Regions from separate parts of the Homo sapiens genome. Here all the other regions are linked to region 2. The links are contacts of gene promoters, found by promoter capture Hi-C in human tissues and cell types (Jung and others, 2019). All regions are on one chromosome and are shown on one strand. The core of a region is centred on a gene start or on the middle of the fragment in contact, and the rest is flanking DNA. Distances in the headings are between cores, read along the strand shown.

What was found. The method cuts DNA at HindIII sites, captures the fragments that hold promoters and counts their contacts. A contact is called where the count stands out against the background at its distance.
Region 1: a contact is called between a fragment that was not itself captured here and the fragment with the promoter of HPSE in region 2, in 1 of the 25 tissues and cell types used here (bladder).
Region 3: a fragment that was not itself captured here is called in contact with the fragment with the promoter of HPSE in region 2 in 1 of the 25 tissues and cell types used here (neural progenitor cells).

What each region holds. Positions count from the first base shown.
Region 1 is chr4:83,543,550-83,547,368 of GRCh38, forward strand. It overlaps GPAT3 (glycerol-3-phosphate acyltransferase 3), which reads left to right. Exons shown (of 12, transcript NM_032717.5): 2 at 987-1,053. Among named protein-coding and RNA genes, the nearest start is that of GPAT3, 9.4 kb to the left of the region's middle. The HindIII fragment of the contact is 3,605 bases long and covers 1-3,200 here.
Region 2 is chr4:83,333,040-83,336,530 of GRCh38, forward strand. HPSE (heparanase) reads right to left here and starts at 1,809. Exons shown (of 12, transcript NM_001098540.3): 1 at 1,517-1,809. The coding sequence starts at 1,743. The HindIII fragment of the contact is 4,578 bases long and covers 1-3,491 here.
Region 3 is chr4:83,464,184-83,467,653 of GRCh38, forward strand. It overlaps ABRAXAS1 (abraxas 1, BRCA1 A complex subunit), which reads right to left. Exons shown (of 9, transcript NM_139076.3): 7 at 3,271-3,355. Among named protein-coding and RNA genes, the nearest start is that of MRPS18C, 9.9 kb to the left of the region's middle. The HindIII fragment of the contact is 8,435 bases long and covers 1-3,470 here.

The DNA.
Region 1 (3,819 bases), core at 148-2,647, 210 kb after region 2:
TCTTCATAATTGTAACATTTTCCTATGCATCTTCATAAGTAACCATGTGGACAGATCATTTTCCGTAGTTCATGATTTCTTTTTCATTCTTTTTTTTTGTTTTTTTGTTTTTTTGAGAGAGTCTCACTCTGTTGCCTAGACTGGAGTGCAGGTGCCCGATCTCTGCTCACTGCACCTTCTTCCTCCCTGGTTCAAGCAATTCTGTTTCAGCCTCCAGAGTAGCTAGGATTACAGGCATGCGTCACCATGCCTGGCTAATTTTTGTATTTTTAGTAGAGATGGGGTTTCGCCATGTTGGCCAGGCTAGTCTTGAACTCCTGACCTCAAGTGATCCACCCTCCTCGGCCTCCCAAAGTGCTGGGATTACAGGCATGAGCCAATCGTGCCTTAGTTAATGATTTCATCGAGTCCTTTCCAGCTTTCCAAGTCTGTGCTGCCTCTTTCTGCAAGCTTATTTCTGATGCATCTTTGAGCGTGTCCTACCCCTGAATGTCTAATTTGTTGTGAAAATAATTGTTACACTTTACGCCCTACGTTTAGGCCCTTACATGTGTCATCTTGTTTAATGTGACAGCAACCCTATGGGATAGGATCTATTATCCTTGTTTTACAATGAGGAAACGGAGGCCTATAGGGAATAAGTAATTTCAAACCCAGACATTCTTGATGCCGTGACCTGTACTCATGCCCCCCATGCTTCACAGCCTTTTCAAGGAGTAATTTATCAGGTCACCAATGCATGTGAGGCAGTTGAGAAAGGGTAAATATTGTCCTTTCCACATTTTATTAGGGTATTATCAGTAAGTGATATAAAAGTATACTTGGGACTTGGAATATTGCTATATCAGAGATTCCCTGGGGTTAGCTCTTTAGTTCAGACACTGCCAGAGCTTGATGTGTAATTTCACTTCTGTATAATCATGGTTGAAGTGTTTTATGTTGTGTCTGTGGGACAGTTTAAATTAATATTTCTTGTTTTTGAACAGTGGGCCACAATACGAATTGAAAAAGGAACCCCAAAGGAGTCGATTCTTAAAAACTCTGCTTCTGTTGGTGAGTTTTCCTTTTCATTATGATTGTTACCATATTTAAATTGGGTGGATGTAAACCTACCCAATTTGAACTTGAAATATGCAGAGAGCAGTGTGTTCTATAGGGTTTGGATCTTTCATAATTCTGTCAGTGTAAAATTGCAGCTGCCAGAGTTTTCATGGACTTTTTATTGTAAAGGTGGTAATATGTGTTAGCTCATCTATATGTTCTTATAGGTATTGTTTTCCTTTCTAAGGGCATGTATTTGAAGATGGCTGTCCGTGGTTTTAAAGATGTAGTCGATGGCCAAAAGAAAAAAAAAAAGAAAGAAAAAGGCTAATGGGAGTTCCTGGGAGTTAAAACCTATTATTGAGGTTTCGTTAACCAACTTGTGATTCTCAAAGTATGTTCCTCAAAGTACTCTTTTCTGCTGAAGGCTAATTGGTAATACATGAAATAAAAAATAATTTTCTCGTGAAATAAGTTTAGGAATCATCACATACTATACTTGCCTTTGGAGAGTATTAGTGCCTACTAATAAAGGCTCAGAAAAGTCCTGCAATAAAGAAACATGCTTGACCAGGTGCAGTGGCTCACGCCTATAATCCCAGCACTGTGGGAGGCTGAGGCCGGCAGATCGCTTGGGCTCAGGAGTTCAAGACCAGCCTGGGCAACATGGCGAAACCCTGTCTCTACAAAAAATACAAAAATTAGCTGAGTGTGGTGGTGCGCACCTGTAGTCCCAGCTACTCAGAGTGGGGTCCTGAGGTGGGAGGATCACTTGAACCCTGGAAGTTGAGGCTGTAGTGAGCTGTGATCATGCCACTGCACTCTGGCCTGGGCAATACAGTGAGACCTCATTTAAAAAAAAAAAAAAGTCAAACTATCAAATACTTTACTGGAAGGAATTTATCTTCTGGAAGCTTTTCTAAAAGGAATTGTAGAAATTGTATTCTATAGTGAGTTTTGGAAATAACAAAATATTTGAAAACATTGGAGTATTTTTGTATAATTGGATTATGATTTTCAAATGATTGAAGCAACTAGTAGAGCTTCATGGTGTATACTTAAACACCCAAATATTATCACCAATCACATTTTTACCAAGTCCGGATATTTCTGGCTATATTTTATCCTTTTTTTAATTGCCAGATACCTTCTCTGAAATATAGCAGCTCTATCATTTAAAAAAATTATTCTGGTTCATTAAAAAATGTATGTCCTTATGATTTAAGGAAAGAACAAACTTTGTTGCTGGTTTTCTGTTGTGCTTGGTGAGACTCTGAGCTGTTGATCTTGAGAGAAAATCAGTGGGCCTTAATAGATTGGGGTGATTGTGGTACATGTTTTGGGCCATGAATTTTAATTTAATTTAATTTTCTTATTTAAATTAAATTAAATTAATTAAATTTTCTGCTTTTGAGACAAAGTCTCCCTCTGTCCCCCAGGCTGGAGTGCGGTGGCGAGATGTCGGCTCACTGTAACCTCTGCCTCCCAGGTTCAAGTGATTTTCCTGTCTCAGCCTCCTGAGTAGCTGGGACTACAGGCGTGCGCCACCATGCCTGGCTAATTTTTGTATTTTTAGTAGAGAAGGGGTTTCACCATGTTGGCCAGGCTGGTCTCAAACTACTGACCTCAAGCGATCCTCCCACCTCGGCCTCCCAAAGTGCTGGGATTACAGGCATCAGCCATTGCACCCGGCCCAGCCATGAGTTTTAAAGGACACAAAGTATTTCAATTTGGCAGGTGATGGGATTAAAAAATCAGTAGATGAGAGGGTCTAGTAGCGTGGATTTAGTTTTTTTTTTTTTTTTGCCTATACAGAAATGAGAACTTTTTGAATATTTATACTTGTTGGATTACTATTTTTATTATAATCTTTGTCAAATATCTGCTTTTTCTGTTTTTGATCTTTGTCTTTTCTATGGTGTCTCCAGGAAAGAATGGAAGTGAACAGGAGGAGAAAATAGAAATCATAGTATTTTAGAGTAATGCTGATACCCGCAAAATTTGTCATATTTCATTCAGAGTGTCTACCCTTCCTTGTAGCCTGTTAAATTGGAAATTGACTCTCACAGTTATTGAACAACTGCAACATGTAGGGCTGACAAAGGATCCAAAGTTGATTAAGACATAGTCCCTGTGGGGAGATAGGCATTGGACAGACCACTGTGATAAATACTGAAATAGGTGCATAAGCAAAGGACAGTGTGAGATCTAATTTCGGCTCTGATATGTACTGCTTTCGTCTCTGCTAATCCCACAGCTGTGCATGGTATGCAACTTTGCTCCCCTCCTGATTTCGTGCTTGGGTATCCAGGGGTACTTAGTACCAGGGGTATTAAGTAAGGGGTGTGTGCCCTGTTGATACATACTAGTATTTGGAGTCATCTGAGAAGTAGTGTCACAATCCTAGACAGACTGATAGAGGGTGATGATGAAACATTGAGTACTTGTGTGCTTGGCTGGTGCAGTTTTTGGCCTTGAGAGCACCATGTCTCTGTACCAAAGTTTAGGCAAGGGTCACAGGCAGGCCAAGGACCCCAGGAGTGTGGGTACAATTTTGAGGTGTGTCTGAATGATATAGTCCTGAAAATAGATTTTGAGGAGCTGAGAGGGAGAGTTATGCTTATTTTCTGCACTGAAAAACTTCCTTCTACTGCTCTTTTTTTTTTTTTTTTTTTTTTTTGAGATGGAGTCTTGCTCTGTCACCCAGGCTGGAGTGCAGTGGCGGGATCTCGGCTCACTGCAAGCTCCGCCTCCCAGATTCACGCCATTCTCCTGCCT
Region 2 (3,491 bases), core at 559-3,058:
GCTTCCTATCCTTAAGGGGAAGGGCAGAAAGTAAGGATTCTTCCCCACCAGAAAATTGTAGTGCCAGAAGGAAAAGGAGAGGTTAACTATGATCCAAAGAAACAGAAAACCGGTGAATGGCTACCAAATGCTCACCATGTCCTAGAAAGAAACAATTCGTTTGAAACGTCAAACACTTACTATGGGTCAAACACTGAGAAGCTCTTACCATATCATCAAATCCTCGGGCAATAATCCTTGAGGCAAGCTTGAGAAATTCCATTCTACAGCTGAAGAAATCAAGGTTGGTGTGGCCAAGAGATATGGAAAAACCAAGTCACTCATCTTTGCCAGAGCTGAGAGTCAAGCCAGGATGGTCTGTCCATCTCTTAACCAGTACACTACCCATTAAATTAGCGCTGGCAACTATAGTGTGGGCTCAGGGAGGACAGCATCTAGGTATTTGACACAGAGGTGAGATAATGGTGATCTTTCCCTCTATCTGGGCTGGTCAAGATGTGGCCATCTCTGGAGGCTCCCAGGGCCTAAATAAGAGGCCTAGAAGACCTGGGATTGTCCCTGTAGCTCCCCATCTTGGAGTCAGCCTGCATTCATGGGGCAGGAGCCCTGAACCTGCATCAGGTTCCTTCTTTCTCAGGTAAGGAAAAAACTTAGAGCTGATAAGGCAGCACCACATTTTGCAGCCCCATTTTGGAGAGACATCTTTTTATTAGGACTTTGTAAGTCACTGCAGTAGTCTCCTAGGTCTCATTTATTGAATATTTAGATTTTTATTCCTGTTCTGTGACGCCCTTTTCATCTGCCTAAAAAAAAAAAAAGAAAAGAAAAAAGAAAAAGAAAAGAAAAGAAAGAGAAATCTTCCTAACACAGTCTTAAATACAGAAGGCTATGCACAATCTTACTTGTCCTACACTGCACAGCAAATCAAGCACTCACAGGCCTTCAGGTGCACCTGCCTGGTTTCCCTCCTCTTGGCTAGGGAAGTACTGGGGCAAGTGGGCAGTTTCTTTTTCAAATTTCCACTTATACCTGACCTTAGGTGGTGCCTATTCAACACTTACAGAATGAATGAAACAAAAAGGCTCATTTAGAGTGGGCGCTAAACAATGTGTACACATGGACTTAGTGGAATAGTAGACACTGGAGACTCCAAAAGGTGGGAGGGTGGGAGAGGGATGAGGGATGAGAAATTACCTATTAGATACAATGTACAACATTCGGGTGACAGTTACACTAAGAGCCCAGATGCCACCACAATGCAATATACCCATGGAACAGAACTGCACTTGTAACCCCTAAATCTATTTTTTAAATGATACCCCCCAAAAAGCAGTTTGGGGTCTGAGAGTAAGGGAGGGAGAGGGAGAATGAGAGGCGGGAAGTGGGGTGGGGAGAGACAGGCGGGGAGGTTCCGGTGTGAAGTTGTTTCCGCGCAAAAGAAGGAGAGCGGCTGGCGGGGCAGACATAGGTGTCAGGAGGACAGGAAAGGGGACAGGACCAGGAGGCTGGCGCTTACCCCAGGAGGATGAGGAACCGCGGGTCCGTGGCCAGGTTGGCGTCAATGGTGACGGACAGGAACGAGGGGCTCACCAGGTGCAGCGGCTCCTGGGTGAAGAAGTCCAGGTCCACGACGTCCTGTGCTTGCGCAGGTCGGGGCAGGGCGCCAGGGGAGAGGGGACCCAGCGGCCCCAGGAGCAGCAGCATCAGCGGCGGCGGCAGCGCAGGCTTCGAGCGCAGCAGCATCTTGGGCTCACCTGGCTGCTCCCCCCGCCAGCTGCCGCGCAGCGGAGAGTCGAGAGCTCTAGCACTTCCTCCCGCCGAGCCCCAGCGCCCTTTTCTCCTTTCCTCCGCCCCGTTACGCCTCCTCACCCCTCCCACTGCGCCCTCCATCCCTCCCACTCCTCTTCTGCATCCCTCCCACTGCTCCCAATCCAACCCCGCCCCGCCTGCCCGGCTCTCTCCTACTTCCTTGCTCGCTTTCCCCTCGGTGGCGGTCACGTTCACTTACGAAATCACCCACACCCACTTGAAGGGTGCGGAGATGGCCGGGATCCAAGCGCCCGGGAGGCCTGGGGAGGAGCGCCCGGGGAGGAGCGCCCGGGGAGCAGCGCTGGGCATCCCGGACCAGGCTTCCTGACGCACGTGTTCTGCGCGCTCTCGTGGGAACCCAGCGTTTCCGACTCCCAGATCCCATTCTGATGGCGCCGGGTATCCCTCTGACCCTCGAGTAAAACCTCCAATGGAGTATTCATCCCTTCCTCTCCCATCTAGCTTATAAACACTTGCTTGTCACTTGAGCCAGCCAAAATCTGATTGTCCTCTGGCCAGGCAGTTTCTCAGGTATTTTACTTTTGCTTGAAAAAATCTGGCCTCAGCATACGCTAAACTGCAGCTGGAAAGAGATCAACCACCCAAAATTCTTTATCAACTTCTCATTAAGACAATATTTAGCAATCTTAAAGGGTTAGTTGCTCCAATGTCTGGAACTCAGGACCTGAAGCCCCCATACAAAGTGTAGAGTACGGACTGCCCCTGAATTTGGAGCCTTTGCCAAATTTCTCCTCTGCGCATTTATCTTTCGCTGTTGGTCAGACTTTTCTTCAGCTTTTCCTTGATGCTTACACTGATGTATAATCATAGCAAGCATCGCACGCTTAGTGCCTACTGTATGCCTGATACAGGTGCTTTACTTGTGTTCTCTTCCCTTCTCACAACCCTGCCAAGTGCATACTGTCCTTGTTTTACACATGCGGACCCAAGCTCTGAGACAGTAACTGGGTGAAGTGTCAGAATCGGGATGTGAAGTGTCAGAATCGGGATGTGAATGCAGTTACAAAACCTCGAGCAGATGGCAGTGTGTTTCAGCTGAAATGTAACTTCCCTCAAGGAAGCTTTCTCTCAATCTCCAGGCAGCTCTCCATGACACACTCTCATAGCATCCTCAATTTGTTAGACACTCTCGTAGCATCCTCAATTTGTTAGACACTCTCGTAGCATCCTCAATTTGTTAGTATTGTGATGTTGCTCAACATTGGCTTCATCTACTAGATTATATGCTCCACCAAAACAGAGATTAAGTTTGTCTCACACGCTATGCTAGCCATAGCTCAGGCATGTGATCATGTTGGTGCTTAGTAAGAGTCTAATAAATATTGGTTGAGTAAGCAAATAACACCAAAACCCTTAGATTTTTCCACTTGAGATTGTACCACCAATAAGGCAACAAATAAAAATAGATTATTTTGAAATGCATATCTAATTTGCATAAATCAGGCCAGGCATGGTATGTGATGCCAGTGATGCCATCATGCCTGTGATGCCAGCATTTTGGGAGGCCAAGGTGGGAGGATTGCTTGAGCCGAGGAATTCAAGAACAGCCTGGGCAACATGATGAAACCCCATCTCTACAAAAAATACAAAAAATTAGCCAGGCGTGGTGGCCCGTGCCTGTGGTTCCAGCTACTGGGGAGGCTGAGGTGGGAGGTTTATTT
Region 3 (3,470 bases), core at 739-3,238, 130 kb after region 2:
CTCAAACAAAAACAAACAAAAAAACTTTGAAACAAAAAAAATACAGATGCAGAGTTACTGCATAAATTTAACACTAAGAAACTCACAGTAAGTGAAACAAAGTGACTATCTTACTATTACGAAAGGATACTATTGAAGATTTTTTCCTGTAAGAGAAACTACTTTTGAAAAGCAGATCACTTCTGTGTGTCTTTAGTTTTAAAAGTATGAATACCAGTAACTTTTGATGCCATAATTCCATTTGGGAATATATCTGAATAACAACAAAAATATAAGATGATGTTTCTTAGTATAACATAAAACAACTGGGGGAGGGGAGAACAACTAATTAGTAAAAAAAGCAACTAATTTCCAACTGTAGGGTAATAGTTGTTTTGCCAGTTTTAGTGGACACTTTTTAGGATGTCTGCCAAGCCTACTTTTTACAAACTTTTTTTGCCCTGACATAAGAGTTTGCCAGTTACCCCTGTACCCACCTTTCACCAGAGCTGACCCAAACAGAACCAATGAGATTCTTGCCTGGCAATCTGGAGGTATTACATAGCCAATTGGCAGATCTTATGCTCTAGAAGAGATCTAAATGCAGGAGCTGTGGGTTGGCTGTTTTCTGGCCTGCCAGTGGATGAAGAAACAAAAAGGTCTGGAAGGATAGCAATGTGCAGACACAGAAAGTTCTATGGCATTCTAGCTCCTGGTTCCAATTCCTTCCTAAAGTTCAGCTGCTTTCTGCCTACAGTTCTTATGATATACCTCTACATTCCCTATTTTAGCCCAAGTTGGTATTTTTCCATAACATTCTCTATGAAATATACTGCCATTAAAAATAAAGAGGCCGGGCAAGGTGGCTCACACCTGTGATCCCAGCACTTTGGGAGGCTGAGGCAGGTAGATAACCTGAGGTCTTGGGTTCGAGACCAACCTGGCCAACATGGCGAAACCCTGTCTCTACTTAAAATACAAAAATTAGCCTGGCGTAGTGGTGGGTGCGTGTAATCTCAGCTACTTGGGAGGCTGAGACAAGAGAATCTCTTGAACCAGGGAGGCGGAGGTTACAGTGAGCCAAGATCATGCCATTCATTGCACTCCAGTCCAGGCGACACACTGAGACTCTGTCTCAAAAAAAAAAAAAAAAAAAAGAAGAAACTAAAAACAACTAAAGAATATGTAGCAACAGAAACAATGTTTTATGTACCAAGTTTTTTAAAAATCATGACAAATTTATGTCACCATGACTATTGACTATATCAAAGTATACATATATTAAGGAAAAACTGGAGCAAATGGCAGAGTGAAAATAGTTATGTTAAAATGGTGAGATTCCAGGCTGGATGTGGTGGCTCACACCTGTAATCCCAGTACTTTGGGAGGCCAAGGAAGGTGGATTGCTTGAGCGCAGGGGATGGAGACCAGCCTGGCAACATGGTGAAATCCTGTCTTTACACAAAATACAAAAAATTAGCTGGGTGTAGTGGTGCACACCTGTGGTTTCAGCTACTCTGGAGGCTGAAAGAGGAGGATCACTTGAGCCCAAGAGGTGGTGGTTGTAGTGAGCTGAGATCATGCCATTGCTCTCCAGCCTGGGTAACAGAGCAAGACACTGTCTCTAAAAAATAAGATGGTGAGATTCTGGATGTTTTTACCATCTAAAATTCCCGTTTCATATGAAAAAGTAGTGTAATATGAATCAAAATATTTATTTTAACTGCTTTTCTGTTAGTGTGCTCTACTGATGAGTGTGGTGGCCATGGAAATATACTCCTTAGTAAGATCTCCAACTGGGGGAAGCATAGTTGACTTAACAGCCCCAGCTTTGGACCTACCACTGTGTTAAGCCACACTTCCCCTGGGCTGTTCCTAGCCAATGACTAAGCACACTGCAGGTATTAGTGCAAGTCCATGCCTATAGAACAATTTTCGGGCAACTTTGCTCAAAGACTCCCTATCAGCCTAGTGGAACGTTCTTAAAATGGCGCTGCAGTCTGAGACTCTTCCTAACCACTTGTCTTCTTATCCCCCTCTCCTTTCTCAGGGGTCAGACTTGCAGTGTTGTCTGAAGGCTCTTCCTGCCTGTTCTTTCTTCCTCTTCTTTATCCTTCTCAGGCCCAATAAATCTCCTGCACTTATAATCCCATCTTGACATCTAGTTCTAAAAGGACCTGAACTGACACATGAAGAAGAACTGACACATGAAGTAGAGGGAAGTATACTGTTCCCAAATATACTTCCCTCTATTCTGTAAGAAGGATTATATATCCCTGCCTATTACCATGTGATGTGTTCAGGCCAGTGAAATGTGAGTAGAAGTGACATGGCCGTTTTAAGCAAAGTTTTAAGAGCTGTTGTGAATTTCCACTAGTTTTTTTTTTTTTTGAGACGGAGTCTCGTTCTGTTGCCCAGGCTGGAGTGCAGTGGCACGATCTTGGCTCACTGCAAGCTCCATCTCCTGGGTTCACGCCATTCTCCTGCCTCAGCCACCCGAGTAGCTGGGACTACAGGCGCCCACCACCATGCCCGGCTAATTTTTTTTGTATTTTTAGTAGAGACGGGGTTTCACTGTGTTAGCCAGGATGGTCTCGATCTCCTGATCTCGTGATCCGCCCACCTCGGCCTCCCAAAGTGCTGGGATTACAGGCGTGAGCCACTGCGCCTGGCTCCACTAGCTTTCTTGCTCTTTGCCTTATGCCATGAGGACATGTCCCAAATAAGGGCTGCTCCTTCAGCCTGGATCCTGGATGAAGATGACATTCAGAAAAGGAGTAGAGCTACAGCCAAGATAAAATGTGAGCAAGACTAAACCATAGTTGTTGTAAGCCACTGAGATTGCAATCTTTGTTAACTACAGCTGAAGAAATACAACTCAGTCAATGAAGCTAAAGGAATAATGACATCTCGTTCAACAAGGGACAGCATCTATGATGGGGTCTCACAAGATTATATTGGAGCACATATAGAAAGCTGATATATAGCACTTGATATTGGCATTACAGATCAAATAGGGGAAATGACTGATATTCAATAATAATTTGGGGACATTTGGTTTTCCCTATGAAAACTAAAAAGTAAAAATACATATAGGTTTGTGTAAGTATATGTTTGCACAATGATAAAACTGCCTAATGACACATTTCTCAGAAGGTACATAGCCTTCATTAAGCAACTCATAACTGTATAAATCTAATCAAGATGTCAGGTTATCCTAAAAAATGTCAGTCATTAACTTGATATGAACTCTATCTAGAAGTGGTTGACGTGTTTGATATGTTAACTTACCTTTAATTCCTCTTGTAATGAAGCATACATTTCATTTATCTTATGTACCTCCTTTAAGGATCCATCTTCTTCAAAAAATTTAGAGCTGTAAAAAATTACCATTTCCTCAGGCAAATACACAAAACCATTTTAATGATAAGGTGAAAAACTTATTCATTGTCAAGGACCAATAGAAGAGTCTTTTTACTGGTTTTGTAGGA